Linked DNA regions of Homo sapiens: region 1 is linked to region 2. The links are contacts of gene promoters, found by promoter capture Hi-C in blood cells and fetal thymus (Javierre and others, 2016). All regions are on one chromosome and are shown on one strand. The core of a region is centred on a gene start or on the middle of the fragment in contact, and the rest is flanking DNA. Distances in the headings are between cores, read along the strand shown. Region 1 has its middle 8.9 kb from the start of TRC-GCA9-1. Region 2 holds the start of ACP3 (acid phosphatase 3).

Evidence for each region. Contacts are between HindIII fragments. The CHiCAGO score rates a contact against its expected background, and 5 or more counts as called.
Region 1: a contact is called between a fragment that was not itself captured here and the fragment with the promoter of ACP3 in region 2, in 1 of 17 cell types (neutrophils). The highest score is 6.0, in neutrophils.

The regions. Positions count from the first base shown.
Region 1 is chr3:132,237,078-132,244,502 of GRCh38, reverse strand. It overlaps the pseudogene RPL7P16. Among named protein-coding and RNA genes, the nearest start is that of TRC-GCA9-1, 8.9 kb to the right of the region's middle. The HindIII fragment of the contact is 1,716 bases long and covers 4,647-6,362 here.
Region 2 is chr3:132,314,481-132,321,588 of GRCh38, reverse strand. ACP3 (acid phosphatase 3) reads right to left here and starts at 4,182. Exons shown (of 10, transcript NM_001099.5): 1 at 4,013-4,182. The coding sequence starts at 4,132. The HindIII fragment of the contact is 19,921 bases long and covers 1-7,108 here.

The DNA of each region.
Region 1 (7,425 bases), core at 4,255-6,754, 78 kb after region 2:
AAATAAGGACAGCCTTATCTGCATACACCTGTGCTATCTATTAAGCTAGTCACTAGCCACCTACTGAGGACCTAAAATGGGACTAGTCTGAATTGTGTAAATACTGGGTTTTGAAGAATTTGTGTGAAAGAGACTATAAGATGTCTCGATGTTTTTTTACAAATAGGTTATATGCTGAAATGATTTTGGATGTACCGGGTTAAAAAGTATTGTTAACTCTCTTTTCCGGCTGGAACCATGGAGGGTGTTGAAGAGAAGAAGAAGGTTCCTGCTGTGCCAGAAACCCTTAAGAAAAAGTGAAGGAATTTCACAGAGCTGAAGATCAAGCGCCTGAGAAATAAGTTTGCCCAAAAGATGCTTCTAAAGGCAAGGAGGAAGCTTATCTATGAAAAAGCAAAGCACTATCACAAGGAATATATGCAGATGTACAGAACTGAAATTCAAATATCGAGGATGGCAAGAAAAGCTGGCAACTTCTATGTATCTGCAGAACCCAAATTGGCGTTTGTCATCAGGATCGGAGGTTATCAATTGGGTGAGCCCAAAGGTCTGAAAGGTGTTGCAACTTCTTTGCCTTCATCAAATCTTCAATAGAAACTTTGTGAAGCTCAGCAGGGCTTCAATAATGTGCTGAGGTTTGTAGAACCATATATTGCATGGGCATACCCAAATCTGAAGTCAGTAAATAAACTAATCTACAAATGTGGTTATAGCAAAATGAATAAGAAGCTACTTGCTCCAACAGATAATACTTTGATTGCTCGATCTCTTGGTAAATATGGCCTCATCTGCATGGAGGATCTGATTCATGAGATCTATACTGTTGGAAAATGCTTAAAGAAGCAAATAACTTCCTGTGGCCCTTCAAATTATCCTCTCGACAAGTTAGAATGAAGAAAAAGACCACCAATTTTGTAGAAGGTGGAGATGCTGACAACAGGGAAGACCAGATCAACAGGCTTATTAGAAGAATAAACATGCCTACCACAATTATTTTTTGTAATCTAGCCAGTTAATAAACAGTACCTGCTCTCAAATTGAAAAAAACAAAAAACCAAAAAGTATTATTAAGATTAATGTAGTCTGTTTCTTTTTCCTCTTTGACTGTGGCTACTAGGAAATTTAAAATGGCATAGGTAGCTTGCATTCATAGTCCACATTCCATTTCCACTGGACAGTGCTGGCCTGGAGCTGGAGCCAAGTCCGGGAGACATAATGACCATCAGGCCAGGAGCAAAGTGCCACCCTTTCGAGAAAGTGTGAGATTCTCCTCATTATAAGCTTGTGGCTTAAATGGCTGGCGGTGTACAGGTTCTTTGAATGCAGTATTTATTCACATAGTTTTCATTTTCTGTCCTGACAAAAACTTGGTGATGTTTGAATGATTACAGAACAAATAGGATTGTGGTTTATGTTTCCTATTATGCATATTTGGCAGTTGAATTATGACATTAGATTGGGACATGGTGAGAGGGGGCAGGATACGGGGTAGGAGGAGGGGAGCAAGTTACAAAGGGCCCCAGTTCCGGGAAGCTGGGCTGAGTTGTTCTGTTTAACTTCTTCTTCCTTTATTCCTATGGTTTTATGATTGCAAATTGGCAGTGGCAGGGCAGCTCTGACTATATTTGCTAGAAGCAGATGTCCACATTAATTTAGATGTTTAGGGATTAAAAATCATAGAGGGTGGCGCTAGGAAATATAGAAAATGCCAATGAAAATTTTTGTCAGGCAAATTAAATCTTTGCAAGTCCCCCGACTTCTGAAAACTATTTACAGAACTGGATTCTGAAAGTGGGACATCTTTTTATAACATAAAATATCTGGGGATTTCAAGGTTTAGATCTAGGACTTTTAAGTCCTGTGTTTGATCTGCCAACCCCTCCCTCTTTCCTCCCTCCATTACTTAACCTTTTTCCCTGAAGTTCCTGGAAAGCAAATAAACACTCGTGAAAGCAAAGGAAACAAAAATTTAGGACCTTTTAGAAGCCAAGAGCTTGGTCAATGGTAAAATAACCTGATCTTTACCAAGCTCCATTTAAAATGTTTATGCCAACCATGTCAAATTGAAGAATCAGTTCTCAGCTGTAGGATCCACCATCTGTTGATTTCCATTTTTTCTTCCTGATCTCACCACCCACTGTCTGGGATGCCACATTGCCCTTCACAGATGCTTTGCCACCTGATTCTAAGATGTGACATCCAAGATCTCCAGCCAGAAAAGGAGTTGCTGCCACATCTTGTATGAACTAGCAATCAAGTGGCTATTTCGTCCAGCCCATTAGCCCTCCACCCACCCCCTTGGTCTTTCACTTGGCATTACTTTCAGTATCTTGAGGATTATTGTAGTACTGTGTAACACATGGCCTTTCAGTAAGAAAAGCGTTGATGGCATTGCCTGGCAGAAGGAAGTAGAGAGCAGAGGCTTAGGGGCTGTGTGCCAGATGGCATTTTGGGAGAAGGAGAACATCTCACTTCTTTGAAGGCTTGAGATCTCAGGTCCAAAGGAGACTGAGTGTGTGGGAGGAGTGGTAGCTACTGACCAGGAAGTTGTTGCTGGCTGCACTTCCCTCCTGATAGGGAATCCTGGATTGCCTACAGAGGGGTCTGAGGCAATTGTATCTGGTTTGGGGTTCTACCAAGTGAAGCTGGAGATTTGTAAAAGCTTGTCATCTATTGATCGTTGGTCCTTGTACTATACCAATGTGGAGATGGAGACATAGTGCAATTTGCTTAGATTTAGGTGCCAAAAAAAAAAAAAAAATCAGACGTCTCAGGCTCATCTCAACAGATTATATTGCCAAGTGTCAAGTATTAGACTATGACTTCATTCTCCTTATTTACTGCCTAATTATAGTCATGTTGTGCACCACTGTGTTTGTACTATTTTGAGATTCAGCTATAAGGCAGTGCAGTTTATCATAGCAAATCAAAGCAGGTGAGAGGAAGGACAGGGTTTGGGTGTAGCCTAGTGTGTTTGATGGTGGTGAGGCATAGTCAGCAAGACAGAAAAGGAACAGGACCCAAGGGCACTGCAATCTCTCATCCTGGTTGAGGCATGAGATGGGAGAATCCCCCAACAGGTACAGCAATGATGGTAAATACAGGCAGATAGTTCCAGCTAGGGCTGGAAAGATCTAAAGACTTGTTCACTCACACATCTTGTTGGACCTTAGTTGGGGCTGTTGGTCTGAATACCTACATAGAGACTGGTGATAGTGGGACATCAGCCTCAGGTGTTCAGATTTTCCATGTGGCAGCTTGGACTTCCTCATAGCATGGTGGCTGGGATCCAAGAGCTAGGATCCCAGGAGAAGGAGGTAGAAGCTGCACGTCCTTTTCAGACCTAGCCTCAGAAGTCACACAGCATTACTTTTGCCATAGCCTGTTGGTGTAGAAGTCCTAAGCCGCTGGCCAGAATCAAATGGAGGAAACATGGACATTACTTTTCAATGAGAAAAACATTAAAGAAATTTGGGGCCATATGTTAAAACACAATCTGTCCTATGACCACAATTGTTTACTTTCCTCCCAAATGCAACATATATTCACTCCACCAAAGATTCTAGAACAATCTCATTCCATTATTAAATCAGGCTCAGACTCGAGGTCCACATGCAATTGAGGCTCCTGCAGTGTGGTTCCTCAAGTCCATCTTCCTGAGTACCATCCTTCTCAATCTGAAAACCTGTAAATTAAAGAGACTGATGATCTGTCCTACAGTGGTGGAACAGGAATAGGATAACTGCAGTAGATACTCCCATTCAGAAAGTGAGAAAGTAGGAGGCACACAGCAGCCACTGGTTCACAGCAATTCTGAAATCTCCAAGGCACATGTGGCTAATTCCTTTATTAGGGCTTACTTTGCTCTTATACTTATTATCTGAGAATGATCTCCCATGGTTCTTATCTCTGCCCTCTAGGCTCTGAGTTACTCTTCCTTGTCCTTGAGAAATGGACCCATAGGTAATGCTAGGAGATTTGAGAAGAGAGGAAGCTAGTACCTGGCTCACTTGTTCATAGGAAGCAGAGCTCTGGATCCTGGATTTGGTTCTGGAGCAGGGATCTGGCAGTCCCTGGGCATAGAGACTGGTGATAATGAAACATACGGACCTGGTTCTTATAGTAGGGAGTAGACAGACATTAATGTCTCAGGCCCCTTACACAAAATGAGGGACTGGGCTTAGGTATTCTTTAGCTCAGGTAGGGTAGAGGACCCAGATAAATAAGGGAGTTTTCCTATAAGGAAAAGATTAAAACTATTTCAGTCCATGGGAGCTTGGTCAAATTGACAAAAAATATGCTTAGTTTTTTTTTTTCTGGAGCCAAATTCACTTCCTAGAAGTAAATCCGGGCCCTTTGAGAGCTGAATTGCTTTCAGCAACATTAATATAATACATTAATTTGCTATTCCTAGGTGATATCATGAAGGAGTTTTAAATTGAGGTAGTTTTCCTGCAGAGCTGCTAGAATATTTTAATTATTTCCTTATGGTATATATTTCGCTTACTTCCAAGTGGGATTGAGGCAGTATACATCTAAAAAGATTATCAAAACAAAAATAAAGGATCAGAAACTATATAAATAAGTGTGCTAAGACTTAGGGTTAATTTAGTAACAATGACTGAATATTAAATGTGCTCTAAGCTTCATTCCAGAACATACTTTCATACAGCTGTGTCTATGTTTGGTATGTCTTTGAATATGCATAAGAGTCTAAGTATTTGCTTCTGGAAATATTTACTTCCAACTTCTTTAAAGATAAAGCATCTCATTTATTTAGAATGGAATGTTTGAAGTTGGAGGAGTCTTTAGAGATCATCAACTCCAGCTTCTTCTCTCTGCAGCTGAAGGCTGGAGGATCCAGAGAGATTCAGGGGCTTGCCCAAAGGTCATACTGATTGATCAGAGTTGAAGTTGACTTCATAGCCCAGTGTTCTTTCCTCTGCACCATAAAGGAGCAATTCTTTTTTTTTTTTTTTTTGAGACAGAGTTTCACTCTTGTTGCCCGGGCTGGAGTGCAATGGTGCAATCTCGGCTCACCGCAACCTCCGCCTCCTGGGTTCAAGCAATTCTCTTGCCTCAGCCTCCCAAGTAGCTGGGACTACAGGCATGCACCACCACACCTGGCTAATTTTGTATTTTTACTAGAGATTGTGTTTCTCCATGTTGGCCAGGCTGGTCTTGAACTCCCGACCTCAGGTGATCCGCCCACTTCGGCCTCCCAAAGTGCTGGTATTATAGGTGTGAGCCACCGTGCCCAGCCCATAAAGGAGCAATTCTTAGAGCTGAAGTTTTCAGAGTCCACTGTTAATTAATAATTTAATGAGAAAGGAAAAACTATATGTTTGCAATAAAAAAATATGATTTGATATACACAGATCTGATTTTAGATATGAAGTGGCTCTAAACACACATGAACCAGCAGGCTCATGGCTGGACAGTGGTAAATACAGGGAGACAGCAGAGTAGAGACAGGGTTAAGGGTAAGACTGTGAAGAGAGACCCCTGAGGGAGGCCAGAAGTTGTCCTCCTGGTCTCTGCTCACAGTGAGGCTCCAGAGAAGGTGAGAAGTCAAGTCTGGATGCCACTACTCTCCTCTTCAGCCATACAGTGAAGTGAAAGCCATTACAAGTAGGATTTGGTCAAATCAAAGAATTTCAGTCTTGCATGTCATTTTCTGACTTCCAAGGAGTTAGAATTCAATCAGAGAAGCAGAACCATATAAGTGATATAAAATATTTATTATAGGGATGAGATCTCACGCAATTGTGGGACCTTGGTGAGTGTATAGGTAAGTCTGTTGCTCCTGTGTCTAGTGCTGGGCCTGAAGTCAGCAAGGCCAGCAGTCTGGAAAGGAAGATCAATATGAAGTGGGGGAGAGAAAGGATAAATTGGAACCCACATCAGTCTCTCAATGCCTCCAAACCCTCCAACTCCAACAATGTTGGGATTTGCAGAATGGCTGACTCATTTCACCCCAAAGCTGTTCACAAACTTGGCCCAGGATTCAGAGAAGCTAAAGAGAAGATCCAGTAGGAGGTGGAGGAACTACGTGCTTGCAGCTGCCCTGATGGACAAAGTGAGCCACAAGATCAGTGACTATGGGCAGAATGCAACAGCACCTGCTTCTACACCTCCATCTCATTTTAAACATGCTGCTGCTTCACTTCCACCTTCACATGTGCACATTTTCTTGTGGGCAACTCTGATAGACAACCATGCAGAGAAGGGAATTTCGGGAGATGTATTTCCAGCTTAGCTAAGTTGATTTCATATAAGCCACCACATCCATGAATTAAATTACTCTCCTTATTCTCCCAATAATCTTATATTCAGTGCACTAGCCAAAGGGTTGGTAAGCTTGCTATTTTTTTAATTCTTAGGAAAGCTTAGAGAGGGAGAGTACATGAGAAAAAAAGACATTTCATGAAACAAATTAGCAGAAGCATTCATGGAGGGACACACTGATCTCACTGATATGGTGGTCACACAGTAACTTTTAAGGAACAAATCTTTCTCATAAAACAAGGCACATCTCTACCTGAAATTGTAACTGCTGGACTAGAACAAAGTAATCTGAGCAGCTTGAATGTACCTTGTAAAAGGGCTTTTGTTTCATTTAGAAAATAACTTGAACCCTGGGAAAATCTGGATCAAGTTGAGAGAGAGAAAGAAAGAGGAAGTGGAAGAGAGAAGAGAGAGAGAATGAGTTTGAGAGTGAATTTTAGAGTAAAACATAGCACATTGTATGACCTCCAGGCTATAATAGAGTGTATATAAAGCATATATATAAAGCATATATAAAAGCCCCTGAAGGCTTATGAGAGGTAAACTGCAAAGCATTGACTAAATATATCATTTGGCCAATTTTCCCATGACAATTTAGTTTGGTGCCCTTTGACTGGGACGTTCTGTTTTTTTTTTCCCTTTAAAAAAAATAAAATAAAACTAACATGTACCTCTCACCTGGCTGAAGGCTTAACAAAAACTTGAAAGACTTCCCTAGACTACAGTGCCAACAGAGTGGGAAATCTGGGCACAGGGCCTAAATTCAGATGCTACTTCTCCAAGACCAGAAAAATAGACTAATATTATTAGCTGCATTTTGTTTTGATGTTAAGTGAATAATGAAAAGGGCTAAAGGACACCATGACTATCTGGGAAACAAAGAATGCCAGGTGGTGGTATGCCCTGTTGCAGGCAGAGGGAGGCATTTGAGTTTGCTATTGAGTTAAAGGAAGAATTTGTCTCGGTCTGTGAATCAGGCGCAATCTGTTCACTAAGTTAGAGGTTGCAGAGTATCTTACCCTCAAGTGAGATAACATGTGCCTGTGCTTGTCATTTCCACAATAGGCATGCAGCTGCTTTCTTGAGATGGTTTACTTCATTACACAATTTCTTTCTAATATTAGACCATAGGTTTTT
Region 2 (7,108 bases), core at 2,933-5,432:
CATTGGCATAAATCTGGGGAGAAGCTCATGTAAGCAAACTGAACTGAGCCTGGCTCAGTACCAACTCTCAGCGCACGGTGCTGTTTCCGGCAAATGTCTTTGAAAAACCTGTGGTCTCCAGACAGCTTGGCTGTTCCTTGGATACAGTGATTAGGAGCCATACAGCAAGGGAGAGAGATTGTATGTAAGGTTGTTTGTGAACTGAGGCAGGAGACCTGATTTTTGCTTTTCAGTGGAATTTTATCTGGTCCATCTTTTTTTTTTTTCTTTTTTGCAGAGATGAGGTCTTACTATGTTAACCAGCCTGGAGTCTTGCACTCCTGGCCTCAAGCAATCCTTCTGTTTCGGCTTTCCAAAGTGCTGGGATTACAGGTGTGAGTTGCTGCACCCAGCCTCTGGTACCTCTTTTTATAAGCCAACCCAAGCGACAGGGTTTTTCCCTGTTGTCCAGGCTGGAGTGCAATGGTGTGATCCTAGCTCAATGTGGCCTCACACTGCTGTGCTCAAGTGATCCTCTAGCTCCACCTTCCCTAGTAGCTAGGAGGTCCTTCATGTCCATAATGTGGAAGTTACCCATTCCAGTATATAGATTATGTGCTGAGAATTTGGAGGCTGCTTCCATCAAGAATATCATATTATGCCAGGCGCAGTGGCTCACGCCTGTAATCTCAGCCCTTTGGGAGGCCAAGGCTGGTGGATCACCTGAGGTCAAGAGTTCAAGACCAGCCTGGCCAACGTGGTGAAACCCAGTCTCTATTAAAAATACAAAAACTAGCCAGGCATGGTGGCACACGCCTGTAATCCCAGCTACTTGGGAGGCTGAGACTGGAGAATCACTTGAACCTGGGAGACGGAGGTTGCAGTGAGCCAAGATCACGCCATTGCACTCCAGCCTGGGCGACAGAGTAAGACTCTGTCTCAAAAAAAAAAAAAAAACCCAAGAATATTATATTACTTGATTAAGAATTCTGCATGAAGAAAGTCAACCATGAAGAATGAGAAGAGTGTATACCTTGTAAGTCATCATTCCTTTCTTAACACCGGTGAAATGAGATGGAATTTTTCTGTCTTGGATCAGCTGAACTTGTGGGTTTTCTCTGGGTTAGGGGAGACAGGATGCTTTAAAATGACATTTTTCTATTTCTGGATGATATGGTGCATGAAATAACTTAAAAAACTCAAGTGGGTGTGTGTGGGAAATGAGTGGCTATGCAGATGAAACAAGATTGCATGGGTGATAGTCTTTGAAGCTGGTTGATGAGGACATCCAGATTCACCATATTTACGATTCTTTCCATATAAAGTTAAAAATGTCAGTTCTCTCAGTGTTTTCTACAGGACATTGGGGAAAAAAAGAGGGAGGTGAATGCTGTAATCAAAATTTTGAAAACAGAGTTTGGAAAACACTAGATCCTTTCCTTGAAAGCCACAGTGCGTATTAGCATGTTAAAGACTTAGGATTACTGCATTAAAGAGACCTTTTAAACACAGTTTAACCCAGTTCTATTCCCAAAGCTAACTTGACTATTGAAACTGATTTTTTCCCCATGTACACCTGTTAACAACTTGTCAAACTAGCATTTCATGGGTCACAGGCACTTCAGTTAGTCCGAGAACAAGAACCAAGGACAGTTTCCTCCTCTTTCTGCTGAGAACAGCTTTTCAGAATTGGGGAGGATTTATTTTTCTCGGATCACAGAGGAAAAGCAAGGGAACCACCTGCTGATTCAGAGTCAAGCTAATCCAGCAAACCTTACAGGGGGATCTCAGACTAGCTCCATGTGCTGGGTTATATACACACAGCAGGAAAAGACCATGTCTAGTGATAAAGGGAAAGGCATCCGGGGTCAGAGAGCCTGGGTTCAAATTCTGTCTCCACCATTCCATCTGTGTGACCATGGGCAAGATGCTTAACCTTTTTGTGCCTCAATTTCTTCATCTATAAAATAGGAATAATAAGTTTTACAAAACTTTATAGAATGGTTGCCAGATTTGGCAAATAAACATACAGGATGCCCAAATATTGCATGGGACTAAAAAATTATTTGCTATTTATCTGAAGTTCAAATTCAAATGGTCATCCCATATTTTATTTAACGACCTTATTTTAGAGGATTGTTGACAGGCTTATGTGATACAATTCATATTGAACACTCAGAACAGTGCCTTGTAAGCACTCAATTGCAGTAAGTACTTGCAGTAAGCACTCAATTGACTATTGGTTATTATCATTAATATTACCACTTTAGTTATGGGCATCTTTTAAAACAATTCTGGTTCTCCTAATAATTTTCTAAGAGTTATCTCATTTGTATAAATTAACCACTTATAGTCAAATATTCTCTTTAGTCAATAAAAATAAGAAACTGATGTTTATTGGCTTAAGTACTTAGATGGACGTTGTTTTATAAGGGCCAAGAAAGATGTATTAAATGGCCCTTCATCTACCATTAATGGAAGGAAATCATGGTAGGAAAAAATAGTTAACACTGGCTTTGTGCAATATTTGTTAATTTTTTTAGTTCTAAGAGAGCTAGCTTTGTATTTTGGCTTTCCTCAGGAAAGAATTAACTTGCAGTCCCTGAATATAGGAAACCCACAACAATTTGGTAGTCAAAGGAAGTTAGCCTGGGCTAACTTGGGTAAAACATGGAGGAGGGAATACATCATGTACAGTGAGCTTGGAGTAACTTGGATTTCTCAGAGGACTGCCACTCAACCAGCTTGTCACAGGTTTACAGTATTACAAGCACGGCAGATGCAGTACAATTTCTACAGTCCCTAAACTTGCCTCATGCACATGTTAGCAAGAAAACTACTGATAGAAGTACAAGCCTAGCTCACATGGGTTTCCCTAAAGAAGGCACACAGTATTATATATTTTTTTTCTGCACAGAAGTCTGACAGCTGGTGAATCATTTGTAAATAAATTGATAGTTTGTTTCACTGGGTTTTCTGTCATTGTTGACTCATGACCTAGTAAGGATTTACTGGACTATAAGAATAATGATTCAAATAAGCACATGGGTATCATATTTTCTGTAGAAAGTAAAGAGCTTTGAATATCCCATGCTGAAAAAAAAAAAAGCCTGAACTTTAATTTTTAAGGAAACAGTGACTTTCCTTCAAATTATAAAAATAATTTTTGAGTATTCTTGACAGAAAGAAAATTTACCTACTTATCAGCCCACTTTCACTATCTCAAATAAAAAAATGTAGGGAAGAGAAAGAAAACGAGAGAGGAAAGGCAAGAAGCAGCTTAGAGGCTTAGAGGCAGAGAAAGAGTGAAACAGAAGGAAAAAAAGATACAGAAACAGAAAATCAGACTCTTAGGTAACATGATGAATCCCCTTCACTTTGCAAACCCTCTTTCCATCTATTTTCAAACAATGTCAACAGTATATTTTCTTTTCTTGATATTATGCATCAGCCACCCCCCACCTTTTTTCATAACTGGTCACATGTGCCAATGATTTTAATCGTCAACTAAATCTATATATCAGAAAATCATCCTAAAATTCCAAATTTAGATTCACTTTTATGCTTCAAGGTTGTTTACAAATAGTTGTTCTAATTTCCTGATAAACAAAGGTGAAAGGACTACTTAATTCAGAAAATGACTGTTTTTTGGCTTGCAAACAAATAATGATTAAATTGAATGAAGCCAGCTCTTGGTACATAAACAGCGCCAGCTGTGGTTTCTTCTGGACTGGTGTGGCTGTCAAAAGGAATCTGAATTCAAGGCAGTTGTAAAGTAAGTAAATAAATAACATCAGCAAAAGCAAATAAAAAGCAACCCCTAAAAAAACAGCGACCAAAAAATATTTTTGTTAGGACACGTTAGGTCTTCATTAAGAGGAACTTGCAAAACTTGATTATTCACTTTCTGAGTTTGAACAGAGCCTGGTCTCTGGGAAACAATCCAAGGATAAGATGAAACCTGACGCTTGCCTTATCAGACTTTGCTGGGAACACAGTTTTAAGGAAAAAGCAATGAGAAAAGTCTACTTACCAAAGTCACAAACTTCAACTCCTTGGCTAGTACACTTCGGTCTAGCCAGAAAAAAAGCAGAAACAAGAAGCCAAGGCTAAGGCTTGCTGCCCTGGCCAGGAGGAGGGGTGCAGCTCTCATGTTGAGGAGAGCTGTTTCTGGCAGGAGTTAGGAGGAACTGCTACCACTTCAAAAGCCTGTAGAGGGGAAGCTATTTAATTAAGGGATTGAAAGGGAAGGAGGAGCCACACTCATAAGTAGTAAAGTTTCCAGGAAGCGTAGGGCAGGTTTGGTATGTAAATAATGTCATGTAAATTTTGAGCTGAGAGAGATCACAGTTTCCCCATTTAAGTTAGGACACCAAGGCCAAGAGCGGGGAAAGCTGTTGATCAAGGTCACAGAGCATGTTAGCAGACATTTCTATCCTTGTTTTCAGTTTACTTTTATCTTTGTTTTTTGTTTTTTTTTTTTTGAGACAGAGTCTTGCTCTGTCATCCAGGCTGGAGCACAGTGGCACAATCTCAGCTCACTGCAAACTCCGCCTCCCAGGTTCAAGCAATTCTCCTGCTTCAGTCTTCCTGAGTAGCTGGGATTACAGGCGTGCACCACCACACCCGGCGAATTTTTGTATTTTTAGTAGAGACGGGGTTTCACCATGTTGGTTAGGCTGGTCTCCAACTCCTAACCGCATGATCCGCCTGCCTTGGCCTCCCAAAGTGCTGAGATTACAGGCATGAGCCACTGTGCCAAGCCAGTTTACTTTTATCTTTTCTTTAGATAGGGTATGATACAGCGTTGGATTTGTGGCTGTCACTTGGGAAAGGGATCTACCCTGACTTTAGAAACCTTAGACCAGTGATTCTTAATCTGTTGGGAGTCCAAAGTTATAGGACTGAAATCTGGAAGGAAATACAGGTGTTGACATATTTGGGGCCTATTTCCATGCCAAACATGGCTACTTTTTCAAAAACTCTCATGTAGCCTATAGAGGTATTTTTAAATTAAAGAAGAAAAGTAACAGCAAGTTTATTTTGAAAAATTTTAGGCTGGGCGTGGTGGCTCATGTCTGTAATCCCAGCACTTTGGGAGGCCGAGGTGGGCAGATCACTTGAGGTCAGGAGTTAAGACCAGCCTGGCCAGCATGGTGAAACCCCATCTCTACTAAAAATACAAAAAAAAAAAATTAGCCTGGCGTGGTGGCACATGCCTATAGTCCCAGCTACCTGGGAGGCGAGGCAGGAGAGTCACTTGAACCCAGGAGGTGGAGGTTGCAGTGAGCCGAGATTGTGCCACTGCACTCCAGCCTGAGTGACAGAGCAAGACTCCATCTCAAAACACAGCAAAACAAACAAACAACAACAAAAAACAAACAAAAGAAAAATTTTAGTCACACCTTAAGACAATTGGACATTACCTGTGGTATCTCAAAATTAGATTGGAGGTCCCTTTCCAAACCTGACAGAGTTTTTTAAGAAAGCAAAAAGCCCAAACCTACAATTCTATATTATTAGTCATCAACTTTGGCCATAAGCCTTAAATTTTGAGTGAGTTACATCCTTGCCTCTCCAGCTATGATCTCACTGGGGACACTACAAAAGGCGATCCAGACTGATGGAACTTTGCTTTCCATTTTCCCCAACCTGTCAGTTCCATCATAGGCTAAAACAATACAAACTTGAGGTGCACATTGAGATTTTGCAAGATTTGGGGGCAGAGCTGCCTGTCATGATATTTCTATCATAATGGCAGAGGGAGAACAATGGTTTACCCGCAACCTGTTTCCTGGTACATTGCGCTTACCTGTGGCAGGAGGATTGTGTTCTTATGTGATCATAGGATGCCCTGGAATGTGGTATATGGGAGAACTGTTCCTTCTTCCGGCAGTAGGAAACATGCGCAAATAGGCTGGGCATGGTGGCTCACGCCTGTAATCCCACCACTTTGGGAGGCTGAGGTGGGCAGATCACTTGAGATCAGGAGTTCGAGACCAGCCTGGTCAATGTGGTGAAACCCCATATCTACTAAAAATACAAAAATTAGCCAGGTGTGGTGGTGGGAGCCTGTAATCCCAGCTACCTGGGAGGCTGGGGCAGGAGAATCACTTGAATCCGGGAGGCTGAGGTTGCAGTGAGCTGAGATCACACCACTGCACTCTAGCCTGGGCAATAGAGTGAGACTCTGTCCCCCCTCCAAAAAAAAAAAAAAATGTGCAAATAATAAATGCATGTGTGATTAGGATTAACCATTCAAGGGAACTTGCAACTTTCTCTTTGCCATCACATTCTCGACCTGCCAGTCTACACTGTCAATTTTAATGAGTAAGATTTTGAGGAAATGGGTGCAAGAAAAAGGAAATAAAAATTGGGAGGTTTTCCAGTCCAGGGCATACATGAAGTTGATACATTAATCCCTGCTGTGTGCACCAGGCAATCTGAGAAAGGAAGCTCCAGCACCTATGTACCATTCACAGGCAAATTTCTGAACCACATTTCTTAAATTGTGCCAGATGTCTGCTTCTATTGAATGCCTTATTTTCTCAGCTATCTGCCTGGGTCCTTGTTCTATCTCCTTCCTTGTCTCACCCTTGGACTGGTGCTTGGAACTATTTCAGCAATAGCCTTAGACCTTCCTGATAATGAAGACTGATTTTATAATCTACCTATACCATGTTGCACTGGTTGGATAAACCCTCTTTCTGACCTAGACCCTAATTTTTTCTGTGGTACCGCCTGTGGGGTCCTTTTAGCTCTTCAAGTGAGAAGGGCAACAACAACAAAGTTTTCTTTGAAAACCAGAAAAAGCCTGCTTGAATTGAATACATCTCAACTCAAACTTAATCCAAGTTGAATTAAATGGTTTATACTTCTATCTCAATCATCATCCTCACTTCCACTTTGATCATTCAGTTATAAGGGGAGAAGAAGTATTCAAAGTCATAAATGTAGAGTCTTGAAAAACCTGAACACCATGAAATGGAGTGTAAAAGATCCTCAACTCAGATGAAACCTGTTTTAGAATGTTCTGTGGCACCTTGAACTTTGAACTCAATAAGGTCTTTGCAAAGACATAAGGGTCATCTGGGATAAATATATGGATATAGTATGTATTAGTCCACGT